Regions from separate parts of the Homo sapiens genome. Here all the other regions are linked to region 2. The links are contacts of gene promoters, found by promoter capture Hi-C in blood cells and fetal thymus (Javierre and others, 2016). All regions are on one chromosome and are shown on one strand. Each heading gives the region's core, a stretch centred on a gene start or on the middle of the fragment in contact. The rest is flanking DNA. Distances are from core to core; before and after follow the strand shown.

Evidence for each region. Contacts are between HindIII fragments. The CHiCAGO score rates a contact against its expected background, and 5 or more counts as called.
Region 1: a fragment that was not itself captured here is called in contact with the fragment with the promoter of SV2A in region 2 in 6 of 17 cell types (naive B cells, total B cells, activated CD4 T cells and 3 more); the score reaches 7.7 in naive B cells.
Region 3: a fragment that was not itself captured here is called in contact with the fragment with the promoter of SV2A in region 2 in 1 of 17 cell types (neutrophils); the score reaches 5.3 in neutrophils.

What each region holds. Positions count from the first base shown.
Region 1 is chr1:150,189,306-150,193,774 of GRCh38, forward strand. No RefSeq gene overlaps it. Among named protein-coding and RNA genes, the nearest start is that of LINC02988, 31 kb to the left of the region's middle. The HindIII fragment of the contact is 5,180 bases long and covers 1-3,942 here.
Region 2 is chr1:149,915,484-149,920,084 of GRCh38, forward strand. SV2A (synaptic vesicle glycoprotein 2A) reads right to left here and starts at 2,361. Exons shown (of 13, transcript NM_014849.5): 1 at 2,256-2,361. RefSeq lists a silencer at 2,205-2,274. The HindIII fragment of the contact is 16,072 bases long and covers 1-4,601 here.
Region 3 is chr1:150,208,923-150,213,102 of GRCh38, forward strand. It overlaps the pseudogene RN7SL480P. Among named protein-coding and RNA genes, the nearest start is that of ANP32E, 25 kb to the right of the region's middle. The HindIII fragment of the contact is 5,688 bases long and covers 1-4,180 here.

The DNA of each region.
Region 1 (4,469 bases), core at 103-2,602, 270 kb after region 2:
TCTGGGAGGCGGAGGTTGCAGTGAGCAACCTGTATCAAAAAAATAATAATTTTTTTCTGTCTCAAAAAATAATAATTTTTTTTTTTGAGACAGAGTCTCGCTCTGTCGCCCAGGCTAGAGTGCAGTGGTGCAACCTCTGCTCACTGCAACCTCCCTGCCTCCCGGGCTCAAGTGATTCTCGTGCCTCAGCCTCCAGAGTAACAGGGACTACAGGCACGCACCACCACGCCTGGCTAATTTTTGTAATTTTAGTAGAGACGGGGTTTCACCATATTGCCCAGGCTGGTCTTGAACTCCAGAGCTCAAGTGATTTGCCCTCCTTGGCCTCCCAAAGTGCTGGTATTACAGACATTAGCCAGCATGCCCGGCCTAAATACATTTGTATAATTAAAAATATTTCATTCTTTATTAACATTTTCAGACCTAGTTTTTTTTATCATTTAGTGAAATTGAAAGTCATAGAGCTCTACAATCGTCAAGCTCTTATTAGCAGACCGTTGGAATGGAAATCTGTTTTAGCTACTGTAACGGTTAATACTGAGTGTCAACTTGATTGGATTGAAGGACGCAAAGTATTGATCCTGGGTGTGTCCGTGAGGGTGTTGCAAAAAGAGATTAACATTTGAGTCAGTGGGCCGGGAACGGCAGATCCACCCTTAATCTGGCACCCTAATCAGCTGCCAGTGCAGCTAGAATATAAGCAGGCAGAAAAATGTGAAAAGAGAGACTGGCCTAGCCTCCCAACCTACATCTTCCTCCCGTGCTGGCTGCTTCCTGCCCTCGAACATCAGACTCCAAGTTCTTCAGTTTTGGAACTCGGACTGGCTCTCCTTACTCCTCAGCCTGCAGATGGCCTATTGTGGGACCTTGTGATCATGTGAGTTAATAAACTCCCCTTTATTCTCCCATTAGTTCTGTCCCTTTAGAGAACCCTGACTAATACAGCTACCCAGAGCGGTTTGTGATCACTGCCCGATCTCTTCTTCAGAGGCTGTGGCATTACTGACTCTGTTTTTACTGGGTTCATCCTATTCTCTTTCTCTCTCTCTCTCTTTTTTTTTCTTTTGAAACAGGGTCGTGCTTTGTCACCAGGCTGGAGTACAGCAACATGATCTCAGCTCACTGCAACCTCTGCCTCCTGAGCTCAAGCAATCCTCCTGTCTCAGCCTCCAGAGTACCTGAGACTACAGGCACGTGCCAACTCACCCTGCTAATTTTGGAGGGGGCACAGGGTGGGATGGATTTGGTAGAGACAGGTTTTACCATGTTGCCCAGGCTGGTCTTGAACTCCTGGGCTCAAGCCATCCACCAGCCTCGGCCTCCCAAAGTGCTGGGATTACAGGTGTGAGCCACCGCACCTGGCCCCATTCTGATTAATGCAATTAGAAAGTCTTCTAATCATACAATAAAGCAAAGTGCAAATAGTTCTTATGCTTTCATCTTTAAAGGGCAACCAAATGATTTAGAATATATATATTTGAAACTATAACCTAGAAAAGTCATATGACTTGGAAGTAAAAAGCTAAAGCAAAACACAAAATCTGGAAATATATCATTCTGATCACAGAGAGAGGAGAGGTATATGTCACCAGATATTAAAAGGATCTTTTTTCAGTTATATAAAAAAGTCAAGCTATTCTGGAATATGCAATTATTTAAAACATCCAGAAGTTTTTCTAAAAAACAAATTATGGTAGAAATTTGTTTATATATTCATTGCTAATTTCTTAGCACTTTAAATCCCTTAGGTGAAGGAAAATTCCTTAGGTTTTTATATTAAGGAACTGTGGCAGGCAGAATAATCCCTCCTCACCCTAAGTCCATGTCCTAATCCTCAGAGTGAATATGTTACCTTACAGGACAAAAGGGATTTTGCAGGTGTGATGAAGTTAAGGATTTTGAGGCGGGGAGATTATCCTGGGCCCAGCGTAATCACAAGAGTCCTTATAAGTAAAAGAGGGAAACGGGAAAGTCAGAGCCAGAGATGCTGGAAGTGGAGGTCAGCGTGGTGCAATAGTTAGCTTTGAGATGAAGCGGGGCCATGAGCCAAGGAATTCGGGCAGCATCTAGAAGCTGGAAAAGCCAAAGAACAGATTCTCCCCTAGAGCCCGCAGAAGGAACACAGCCCTGTGGACACCTTGATTTTAGCACCGTAAGATCCATTTCCATCATCTAACCTCTAAAACTGTAAGAAAATTAATTTGTGTTAAGTGGCTTCATTTGTGGTAATTTGTTATAGCAACAATATGAAACTAATACAGGAGCATTTTATTAGTCTTTTAGTACTTTGACTATCCCGTTCAGTCAGAATTGTGGCATTTAAATAATTACATCTCATATATATATGTATTTTTTTTTTTAGATGGAGTCTTGCCCTGTCGCCCAGGCTGGAGTGCAGTGGGGCGATCTCGGCTCACTGCAAGCTCCGCCTCCTGGGTTCACGCCATTCTCCTGCCTCAGCCTCCCAAGTAGCTGGGACTACAGGCACCCACCACCACGCCGGCTTAATTTTTGTCTTGTTTTTTGTTTTTTTTTTTTTAGTAGAGACAGGGTTTCACCATGTTAGCCAGGATGGTCTCGATCTCCTGACCTCGTGATCCACCCGCCTCGGCCTCCCAAAGTGCTGGGATTACAAGCGTGAGCCACCGTGCCTGTCCAATTACATCTCATATTATCATGTTGGCTATAAAACTGTATGCACCCTTTTTATGGTTGCTAATAAAAATGTTTTTGCTCAAATATACTTGCTATTTACCTTTAAGTGAATAATGTATTCCAGAATTAAAATCCAGGGCAAATATACACACAATAAGGAGCACCACTCTAGCAATACCAGACACATTTAGTAGACATGACACATGCATTTAAATATGTGGAAAATTCTAAGCAGCTACCTATCAAATCTCAAGAGATAAAGTCCAGCAGCCCAACCACACTGGCTGTCAAACAGGCTGAAATTTGATTCAGAAAATAGAATCTGATTCAGAAGACAAAAATGGTAACGTTAACAATGCTATTTTGATGTGACCCTTTAGCAGAAAGCTGACCTTTTCGGCAGTTGTTAAAAAGCAAGGTATGTCTGTAGGAGAGAGCAGAGCTTGATAAATGAAGAAAACAGGTCTATCCCCATAATATAGAGAGAAATCACTGACAATTTAGTCTCATCTTGTTCCACTATCATTTTAACAGTGGAAGCTGCCACTGCGAAAGCTCGCTGCATGGCACCTGTTAGGCCTCATTCTCATCTCGCAGTTCCCAGAATTCCTCTTGATTGCAGCATCCATACACTCTTCATTTTCCTGCAAGGTATTATTTGGACACTCTTCAAGAATCCTTTTTCTTTTTTTTTCCCGAGATGGAGCCTCACTTCGTTGCCCAGGCTGGAGTGTAGCGGCGCAATCTCGGCTCACTGCAACCTCCTCCTCCCGGGTTCAAGCGATTCTCCTGCCTCAGCCCCCCGAGTAGCTAGGACTACAGGCGTGCGCCACCACACCAGCTAATTTTTGTATTTTTAGTAGAGGCGGGGTTTCACCATGTTAGCCAGGCTGGTCTCGAACTCCTGACTTCAAGGGATCCGCCCACCTCTGCCTCCCAAAGTGCTGGGATTACAAGCATGAGCCACCACACCCGACCCTCTTAAGGAATCCTAATTGCAACTTTTAAGGCTTGTAATTCCTCCAAATAACTAAAGCAATAGCACATACTCTAAAAAGAAAACTTTTCTTCCTTTGCCAATATATTGACAAATTTGGAAAAGATAAAATCCCAACATAATGTTCATTGTTCTTATGATTATGACTCTTGAAACTTTATGCAGATAACTCTGTACACAGACTAGTCCCTCATCTTTCCCAAAATGCTTAAGAAAAACAAGAATGTTTAATCCAGATGCTGTTTTCTAAATTGGCCAATTCAGTTTAGCACTTACATCTTAAGAAAGTAAGCTTCAAAAATTCTCCTGTTTCTCCTGTGATGTGTCAATATCATTTGGCCTTTGGCTTCAATTAGGACATGAGTTGATTTCTTCTTAGCCCTAACTAATGGTCATGTAGTAGACTGACTTTTCAAATAGTGTGTTTAGAATAAATTAGTTCATTACAGAACATTTTCTTTATTTTCAGCTGGCATCAATGTGGGCATCAAGGTGTCCTCCTACTAAGCAGTTTAATCTGAATTGGTAACATGGATTATATATACCTATAGTAACTTGGAGATTTTACTGTATTTCTCTTTTGAGATGTTTTACATAATTTTTTTCTCCTTGATGTGCTACTAAAATGTCTGTAGAAAACTGTATGCTTTAAGTCTAAACATCAAGTACAGTGTGGGTTGAAGGGATGATATCAAAAAAAAGCAAACTCCATCCTTTTTTTTTTTTTTTTTGTAGACAGAGTCTCGCTCTGTCACCCACGGCGTGGAGTGTAGTGGCACGATCTCGGCTCACTGCAACCTCCGCCTCCCAGATTCAA
Region 2 (4,601 bases), core at 1,111-3,610:
TCCACTGCCACCTTGCTTCAGAATGTCATAGATAGGCCCCCTTTCCACAGATGGGGGTGAGAATGGAAATGACTGTCAAATGCATACATTTCCAACATGAGGTTCTAAGGCCTACAGTTGCATCCCATCCCTCCAGGGCCTCCCTTCCTAATCCCCCTTAATCCTTTCTGCTCCTCCTCCAGGAGTCAAGGAAGAAGGAGTCCACAAACACCGCATTGCGTAGGAGGCGGATGTAGAATAAAGGGGGTTTGGGTGTCCCCCCAAAAAAGACATTCTCCAGAGGAAGGCATGGGATAGCCCCCTTCCTTCATAGGAGCAGAGGAAGCAGGCCTAGATTCTGATCAGAAATCATCCCCCTAAAAATATCCTGCCTCCGGTGCTCCCACCCATCCAGGGCCTTCATTAAAACACACACACACACACACACACGCACACACACACACACGCCCTGGTAGAAGACGGTAAGCAATGCTATGTGGTTCAGAGAGAAGCACTGGCAAGCAGCGCCTTATCCCCTCAGGACAGATGTAAGCAGTGGACCACGGTGACCAGAAGCAGTGACCCCTATGTCACCTTTTCTTCATGGTTCAGGGCCCAACCATCCCCCATGAAAGAGCTGGAACTGCGGAATCCCCTCAGCGCATGGCAATTTGCTAGCTTTCCTCTCTTTCCTAACCAGGATCTCCCCTCCAGCCCTGAAGGAGGCAGGACCCACCAGGAGCCATACTCTATGTTTGTTGACCCTATTTCCCCCTGAGAGGGGCACGTAGGGCAGGGAAGCCTTCCACAACCACAGCAGGATATGAGGTCTCAACAGCCAGCTTCCTCAGGGCCAGCAAGCCCAGGAGGTCAGGAGAGAAAGAAAGAAGACAAATTCTTTGAGCTGGTGAGGAAGTGGTGCTATTTTTAGCCCCCAAAACAGCACAGGGTGGCTAAGCCTGGGGGAGTGAGACAAGACTTGGAGAGGTGGAGGTTAAAGGAGACAAGGTTCAGGGTTACAAGGTCCTAGGCTGGCTGACTTCACCTGACAGGAAAAAATGTGCCCAGGAGATTTTCTGCAGAGGGTGGAGACAGGCAGGGGACTCCAGAGCAAATGCTTTCTTTCAGAACAGCTCATCCAGCCCTGGGTCCAGAACCCCCCACCCTCCCAGTCAAAGCCCCTGACTTTGGGGTCCACCCAGATCCCCAGGCCTTCCTAGCTCAGGTGACAAGGTCATTAAAAAGCAATCACTTATCAAAACGTCCGCGGGGGCGGGGGTAGAATGTGGGAGGTGCGGGAGCACCCCTTCCCCATGACAGCCCGGTCATCGAACTTCAGCCCCCACCCAGGACCATCAAGACTGCGCCTCCCCTCCCCACATCCTACCAAGGTTAGGAAGATAGGAGCACCCACAGTTCTGAGGGATAAAAATGAGGGTGTCAGCTGAGAATGCACACTGAGGAATACGGAGAGGCAGAGAGGGGGACGCAGGGAGAGACCTCCGCATGCACAGACATAGAGACCGCCCCTATCAGCATTTGCAGCGACCCCCCCACACCCCATCTTGCCTCAGCTCCGGAATAAGGGAAAAGCCCCCAGAACTGACTAAATCCCTGCTCTGAGCACCTCCTCCACCCTTGGTCCTGCTGCTAGACAAGTGTCCACCTTCACTCAACATCCCTTCCCCCCACCCCGGAGCAACTGCCGCCAGCCCCCGCCATCCATGCCCCCAACACCTGGCGGCTCTACATCTCTGTCTCCCCAGTATTTCCATTCTTCACTCCCCTTCCCTCCATCCTTCACCTGCCCTTCTTCCCCTGCCCCCCACCCACCCAAGTCCAGGCGTGCACACTGAGGCAGCATCCATTCTCCAGCCCCAGCCAAGGTCATTTATCATTCATCCTGGGGGTGGGGGGACGTCAAGGTGAGGAGGGGATAGGAGTTTGAGGGAACCTCATCCCACCTCACAACCCCACCACCACGTTAATCTCCGAAGGGGATAGTGGGGACTTGGTTAAGGTAGAGAAAAACACCCCTCCTCCCCATTCACCAATATTATACATATGCGTGTGTGTGTGTGTGTCCTGAAGAGCACAACTGAAATAAATGTCCATCCCCAAACCACCACCAACCCACCAACCCCCCTCACCCCTAGAGAGGGGATCGTCACCCTCCCCATAAGCAAAGCATCGGAGGATAAAATGGCTGCAAGGCAAGGCAAAGATGCTTCTGCCAGGGGCGGGGAGGAGGTGAGCGACTGAGAAAGGGGTCTCACCTGGTCTAGGTTCCCCGGGTAAGGAGTCCCGGGCGAGGACGGGGGTCCCGGCCGCGGGCGGAGGCGGCAGCGGCGACTGCTCCCGGCACCAGGGAAGCGGCAATGCAGACCTGCCACCCCCCTTCCACCACTCCAGCCCCGCCTCCGCCCCCCCCTACCCCGCGCCACTGAGCATCGGGAGAGACCATTGGTGGGGAGAGGAGAAAAGAGGATGGGGAGGGAGTCAGGGCACGGGGAGAAATGATGAAAGGGCCGGAGGTTGTCACAAGAACAGCTGGAAATGGCACCCAGCCCTTCCCAGGCCCTTCCTAGTAAAAGATAGAAGGAACTAAAGAAAAAAACAGTGATGTTAGGAAGACAAGTGGGAAGACAGGGAGATGGGGAATGTGGCAGCCCCTTCCTTAGCACCCCAGTCTCAGTATGGCAGGACCCAATAATTTCAGGGGCTTTTGCTGCCTTCAAAACACCTCCCTTGCCTTCTCCACTGCTCTCAAACTCCTTTTTCACAACAGTCTCCCAAATCCAGAGTGCTCCTATTCCAAGTTTACCTGGACATTTTAGAGAAAGCAGAGATAACAAGGTGTGGTTTCTATCCTGAACTGCCAGAGTCAGAGACCCCTGGATTCCTTCCATCTCTTTCCTCACAAAACAGTCCAGGTTACTTATTTACAGTGGACACCTCCTCATCCTGTCCATTCAGTTGGTGGTAGCAGAAGTACTGGGGAAGTTGAGGGATTTTTACAGACCTGACCAACCGGACAGTTCCCCTTCCATTAATTTGCTCCAATGACTCAAAAAGGATCCTCTCAATACCCTTCTCCATTTTCTCTTACTCTCCTCTACCTCCCTCCCCTCCCCTCCACACACTTGTACTTCCCGGGCAGGAAGAAGTAAATTGTTTCAGCTTTTCCCTTCATCTTTCCTTTGCTCTTGCATCAATAACCTGGACTCAGAGATCCAAGACATGCCACTTGGTGACACTTGATGACCATCCCTGCCGAAGGAGTGAGAGGGAATATGGTGATTTGGGGAAATACATCCTGAATGTGTCTATGCCAGATAAGGTCAGGACCTTCCAGACAGCACTGACCTGGGCTTGGACCTGGGTTCTCACTGCTAACAAGCTGTCAACTCTTGGTCAAGTTCTCCACATCTGTGAACTTCAGGTTTCTCATCTGGAAAAGGGGGGCTTGGACTAGATACTGCATCAGGTCCCTCTCAGATCTAATAGCGTGTGATTCTGCCTTACTAAATGTGGAGGCTTCAGAATGCTGATATATATACATGGAGAAGGCTGACAGGCTATGTCCGAAGAGACCACACAGGTAACATTTGCCAGGTTGAATTTACCTCTGACAGGGACACGGGCCTGGGCTTTGCAGACTCCAAAGCTGGATCTTGGAAATAATCATTCATGCCAACAAAGTTCACAATCTTCTGAAATATAAAGCCATAATACATAAATATTAATTTATCATAAATATTTAACTGTCACTCAGACTGAAAACTCATATCTACATGTCTAGTACATTCTCTCCCTGAAGCCAAATCAGAATCATAATGTCAATGTATAAATGCACAATGACATTACTGGAGGATTTGTATCTTTAATGGCATCTGGCCATCTGCAATAAGCAGCCATGCCAATGGGTCCAGAAAACTCTTCTTGGCAACAATCTTCTACCCCCACCTCTTTGCTATTGGCAGCCTTGCCAGCACTCCTGGACTACTCTGAATGTGACGGCTTTCCAGGATGGTGCTTGGACTGGCCTCAGGGACTCTCCCTTTACTAGACTTTCATTGCTGACCCGTCTTCAGGTTAACACACATTCTTTTTCTTTTTTTTTTTTTTTTTGAGACAGAGTCTCACTCTGTCGCCCAGGCTGGAGTGCAGTGGCGCAATCTCAGCTCACTGTAACCTCCACCTCCGGTGTTCAAGTGATTCTCCTGCCTCAGCCTTCCCAGTAGCTGGGACTACAGGCACGAGCCACCACACCCAGTTAACTTTTTTTTTTTTTTTTGAGACAGAGTCTTGCTCCGTCGCCCAGGCTGGAGTGCAGTGGCACAATCTCGGCTCACTGCAAGCTCCGCCTCCCGGGTTCATGCCATTCTCCTGCCTCAGCCTCCCGAGTAGCTGGGACTACAGGTGCCCGCCACCACACCCGGCTAATTTTTTGTATTTTTAGGAGAGACGGGGTTTCACTGTGTTAGCCAGGATGGTCTCGATCTCCTGACCTTGTGATCCGCCCGCCTCAGCCTCCCAAAGTGCTGGGATTACAGGCGTGAGCCACTGCGCCTGGCTAACTTTTGTATTGTTAATGGAGACAGGGTTTCACCGTGTTGGCC
Region 3 (4,180 bases), core at 458-2,957, 290 kb after region 2:
GAGCGAGACTCTGTCTCAAAAAAAAAAAAAGGAAAGAAAGAAAAATAGAAAGTATGTTAATAGAATAAAGTAATTTACATAGAATCAAAGGAAGCAAGAATTTGGCAGCATTAGTCTAATAGTGCTGAGCGTACTGCTGCCAAAGTCAGACAAACTGAACACAACAAATACTAAAACCTCTAGAAAGAATAGTGTGGATCAGGGTAGGTTCCTCATACTTGTCAAACACATAAAATATCCCTCTAGCACCCTCTCCTCCACTTCTATGCTCACCTGAGAGGATTCTGATTGTGCACTTGGCCTCTCAGTTACCTTTCCTAGAAGGGATACACGAGACCTTCACCTAGCAACATGACTACTGCACTTGAAATGTGGCTAATCCAGGCACTTTGGGAGGCCAAGGAGGGAGGATCACTTGAGCCCAGGAGTTTGAGACCAGCCTGGGCAACATGGTGAGATCCTATCTTTATAAAAAGAAAAAAAAGAAGAAGAAAGTAACTAAATAAAAATAAAACTCTGTTAAAAAAAAAAAGAAAGAAAGAAAAGTGGCTATCTGAATTGAGATTTGCTGTAAGCATAAAATCCATCCCAGATTTGGAAGACTTTGCATGAAAAAAATACAAAACATCTTACTAATGATTTTTTACATTGATTACATGTAGAAAGTATAATATTTTGAATATGTTGGGTTAATTAAAATACATTAAAATTAATTTTACCTGTTTCTTTTTAGTTTTTTAAATATGTCTACTAGAAAATTCTAAATACATCTGTGACTTGCATTTTTATTTTATTTATTTATTTATTTCTTGAGACAGAGTCTCATTCTGTCACCCAGGCTGGAGTAGAGTGGCTCGATCTTGGCTTACTGCAGCCTCTGCCTCCCAGGCACAAACAATTCTCCTACCTCAGCCTCCCGAGTAACTGGGATTACAGACACCCACCACCATGCCTGGCTAATTTTTGTGTTTTTAGTAGAGACAGGGTTTCACCATGTTGGCCAGGCTGGTCTCCAACTCCTGACCTCAGGTGATCCACCCGCCTTGGCCTCCCAAAGTGCTGGGATTATAGGTGAGAGCCACCGCACTCCACCAACTTGCATTTTTGACAGAATTATATGTCTATTAAAGAGCGCCAATTTAGAACACTGAACAATAATACCATAAACAATGTAAATATACATTCTCCCTGTAAATTAATAAATTGACAACTTGATTTAGAAATCTGACTTTGGTGAATTTTCACGGCACAAGTCTGTCCCTCACATATTGATCGATTTTGTATTTACAAACTCAAATACATCTCCTTCTATAGCCCTGCAAAATGAAGGATCACGCCTTCACTGAAGTGAGCAAATCAAAGTTTTGGCATCTTCTGAGCTTTCTGGGCACAAGCTGTCAGCTCAGCCATTTCTCTGCCTGCAATTTCGCTCTTGGTTTATAATCTTGGGTTTAGGCTGTTTTTCAAGGGATAGAGTTGGTATCATTCATATTTGTTTTCCTATCACTTATGTTCCTTAAACAAAGGATTTTAAAAGTTTGTTAAATATTCTACATTTTATGCCTTTGATCATAGCTGTAAGACTGCTTGCCTTGAAAAGGATTTGCACATAATTCTCCATGGTTTTTTTCTTAATATGTTAATTGCAAACCGCTTGTAAAGATTGAGTACATGAAGATCTGAAAGACAGCAGTTATTTACAGTCATGTAAAGTAAAAATGGCAAGTGATATCTAATTAATAGCTAATAACCTAATAATATGGAGTGGAAACTTGATAACCATTACAGCACACTGTATTTTATTATCAAGGACAGAGCCTTAGAGACAGACCACAGAATTGATGTTTCATCATTATGCGATGGCCTACATTATATGACCTCTTATTTGTCCCTCAACTCCAATAGCAACCTCAAGGCTGATATAGAATAGCAGTGGAAAGGAAAATAAATGACACAAAAAGAAAAGTAGGTTTATCATGGGACCAATGTAGTGCTTTGGCCTCATAGCAGAGACCAGATGGTAGCAGCTCCTCTCTCAGCAGGTAGCTCTTCAATATCCTACGGGTTGTAAACAACAAATTCACATCATCTCCACCTGCTAATAAGTATTTTTTAAAATATTGCGGCAACATCGAAACAATGCTGAAAATACAATCCCTCAATATAAGAAAAAAAGTTTTCCTAAATATTTAGTCTGTTAAAAGAAAAAGTCTTTTCTGAGAAATGCTATTACCCACTAGAAAATCTTGGCTTCTTAAAATCCAAGAATATTCTCATCTCTTTTTTTTTTTTTTTTCTTTTTTTGAGACAGAGTCTCACTCTGTTGCCCAGGCCAGAGTGCAGTGGCGCGATCTTGGCTCACTGCAAGCTCCACCTCCCAGGTTCAAGCGATTCTCCTGCCTCAGCCTCCTGAGTAGCTGGGATTACAGGCACGTGCCACCATGCCCGGCTAATTTTTGTATTTTTTAGTAGAGACGAGGTTTCACCATATTGGCCAGGCTGCTCTCCAACTCCTGACCTTGTGATCCACCTGCCTCGGCGTCCCAAAGTGTTGGGATTACAGGCGTGAGCCACAGCGCTCGGCCTCTTTTTTTTAAATAAAGTAAATGGCCCTCATTTTACCCAATTTTGTGACTTTGTAAAAGCCAATGAAAATGCCTGAGAAACTACTGACATTAGTTTTACTGCAGTTAAATATTTGTTAACTTTGCCAGGCGCGGTGTCCCGTGCCTGTAGTCCCAGCTACTTGGGAGGCTGAGGCAGGAGACGGCTTGAGCCCAGGAGTTCTGGGCTGTAGTGTGCTATACCGATCGCGTGTCCGCACTAAGTTCGGCACCAATATGGTGACCTCCCAGGAACAGGGGACCACGAGGTTGCCTAAGGGGAGGGGTAAACTGGCCAAGGTCAGAAATAGAGCAGGTCAAAACTCCCGTGCGGATCAGTAGCAGGATCGTGCTTGTGAATAGCCACTGCACTCCACCCTGGGTAACAGACCCTGTCTCTCTAGATAGATAGATAGATAGATAGATAGATAGATAGATAGATAGATAGATAGAGCGTATATATATACATATGCTAATTCTATAGAAACATGTAACTGTCCTTTGACATTTTAATAAAAATTGTGTATACAAGATTTCAAATTTAATTATTCTCTTCTCCTTCCATAGGATCAAAGACATCTTTTGGTTGCACAAGAAAAAGTGAAGCAAATATTCTCTGAAAAGTGACTGATGCCAATAAAACGTATAATTTTTGTATGTTTAATAGAGATGGGGTTTCACCATGTGTTGGCGCGCGCCTGTAGTCCCAGCTACTCTGGAGGCTGAGGCAGGAGAATCGCTTGAACTCAGGAGGCGGAGGTTGCAATGAGCCGAAATCGTGCTACTGCACTCCAGCCTGGCAACAGAGCGAGACTCTGTCACACACACAAAAAAAGTATAATTTGATGACAGTTTTTCTTCAATAGTTTAAGACACTTCTAACAAACTATAATTTAGTTGTCCTAATTAAAAGAAGAAAAATGTTAATAATCTCACACAGTGACCTCTACAAAATGTCCCTCAATGGACCCATTCTTTCCTTCGGAGAGAGAGGAAAAGGATCCTACATCTTATACCTTAAAGCTCTTAATCACTTTACATGTGGGCTACATGTCATTTTTCAACGGTTTCCCTCTGGGTAGCTGGTTGCTCCAATATTTTCCAGAATTGATTCGTTCTTAGGTACCAACTTGACCGTTCAATTCAGCAATTCTGGCTTTAAAATAGAAGAAAAGGCCGGGCGCGGTGGCTCACGCCTGTAATCCCAGCACTTTGGGAGGCCGAGGAGGGCAGATCACGAGGTCAGGAGATCGAGACCATCCTGGCTAACACGGTGAAATCCTATCTCCACTTAACATACAAAATATTAGCCAGGCGTGGTGGCGGGCGCCTATAGTCCCAGCTACTCGAGGCAGGAGAATGGCGTGAACCTGGGAGGCAGAGCTTGCAGTGAGCCGAGATCGTGCCACTGTGCTCCAGCCTGGGCGACAGAGCAAGACTCTGTCTCAAAAAAATAAATAAATAAATAAATAATAAAATAAAATAGAAGAAAAATAGGAGTAGGAACAACGTGGAATAGTAGGTTAGCCCCTGGGGACAAGAAGAGAAATTCACTTAAGCAAAGGTCACCTAAGTGC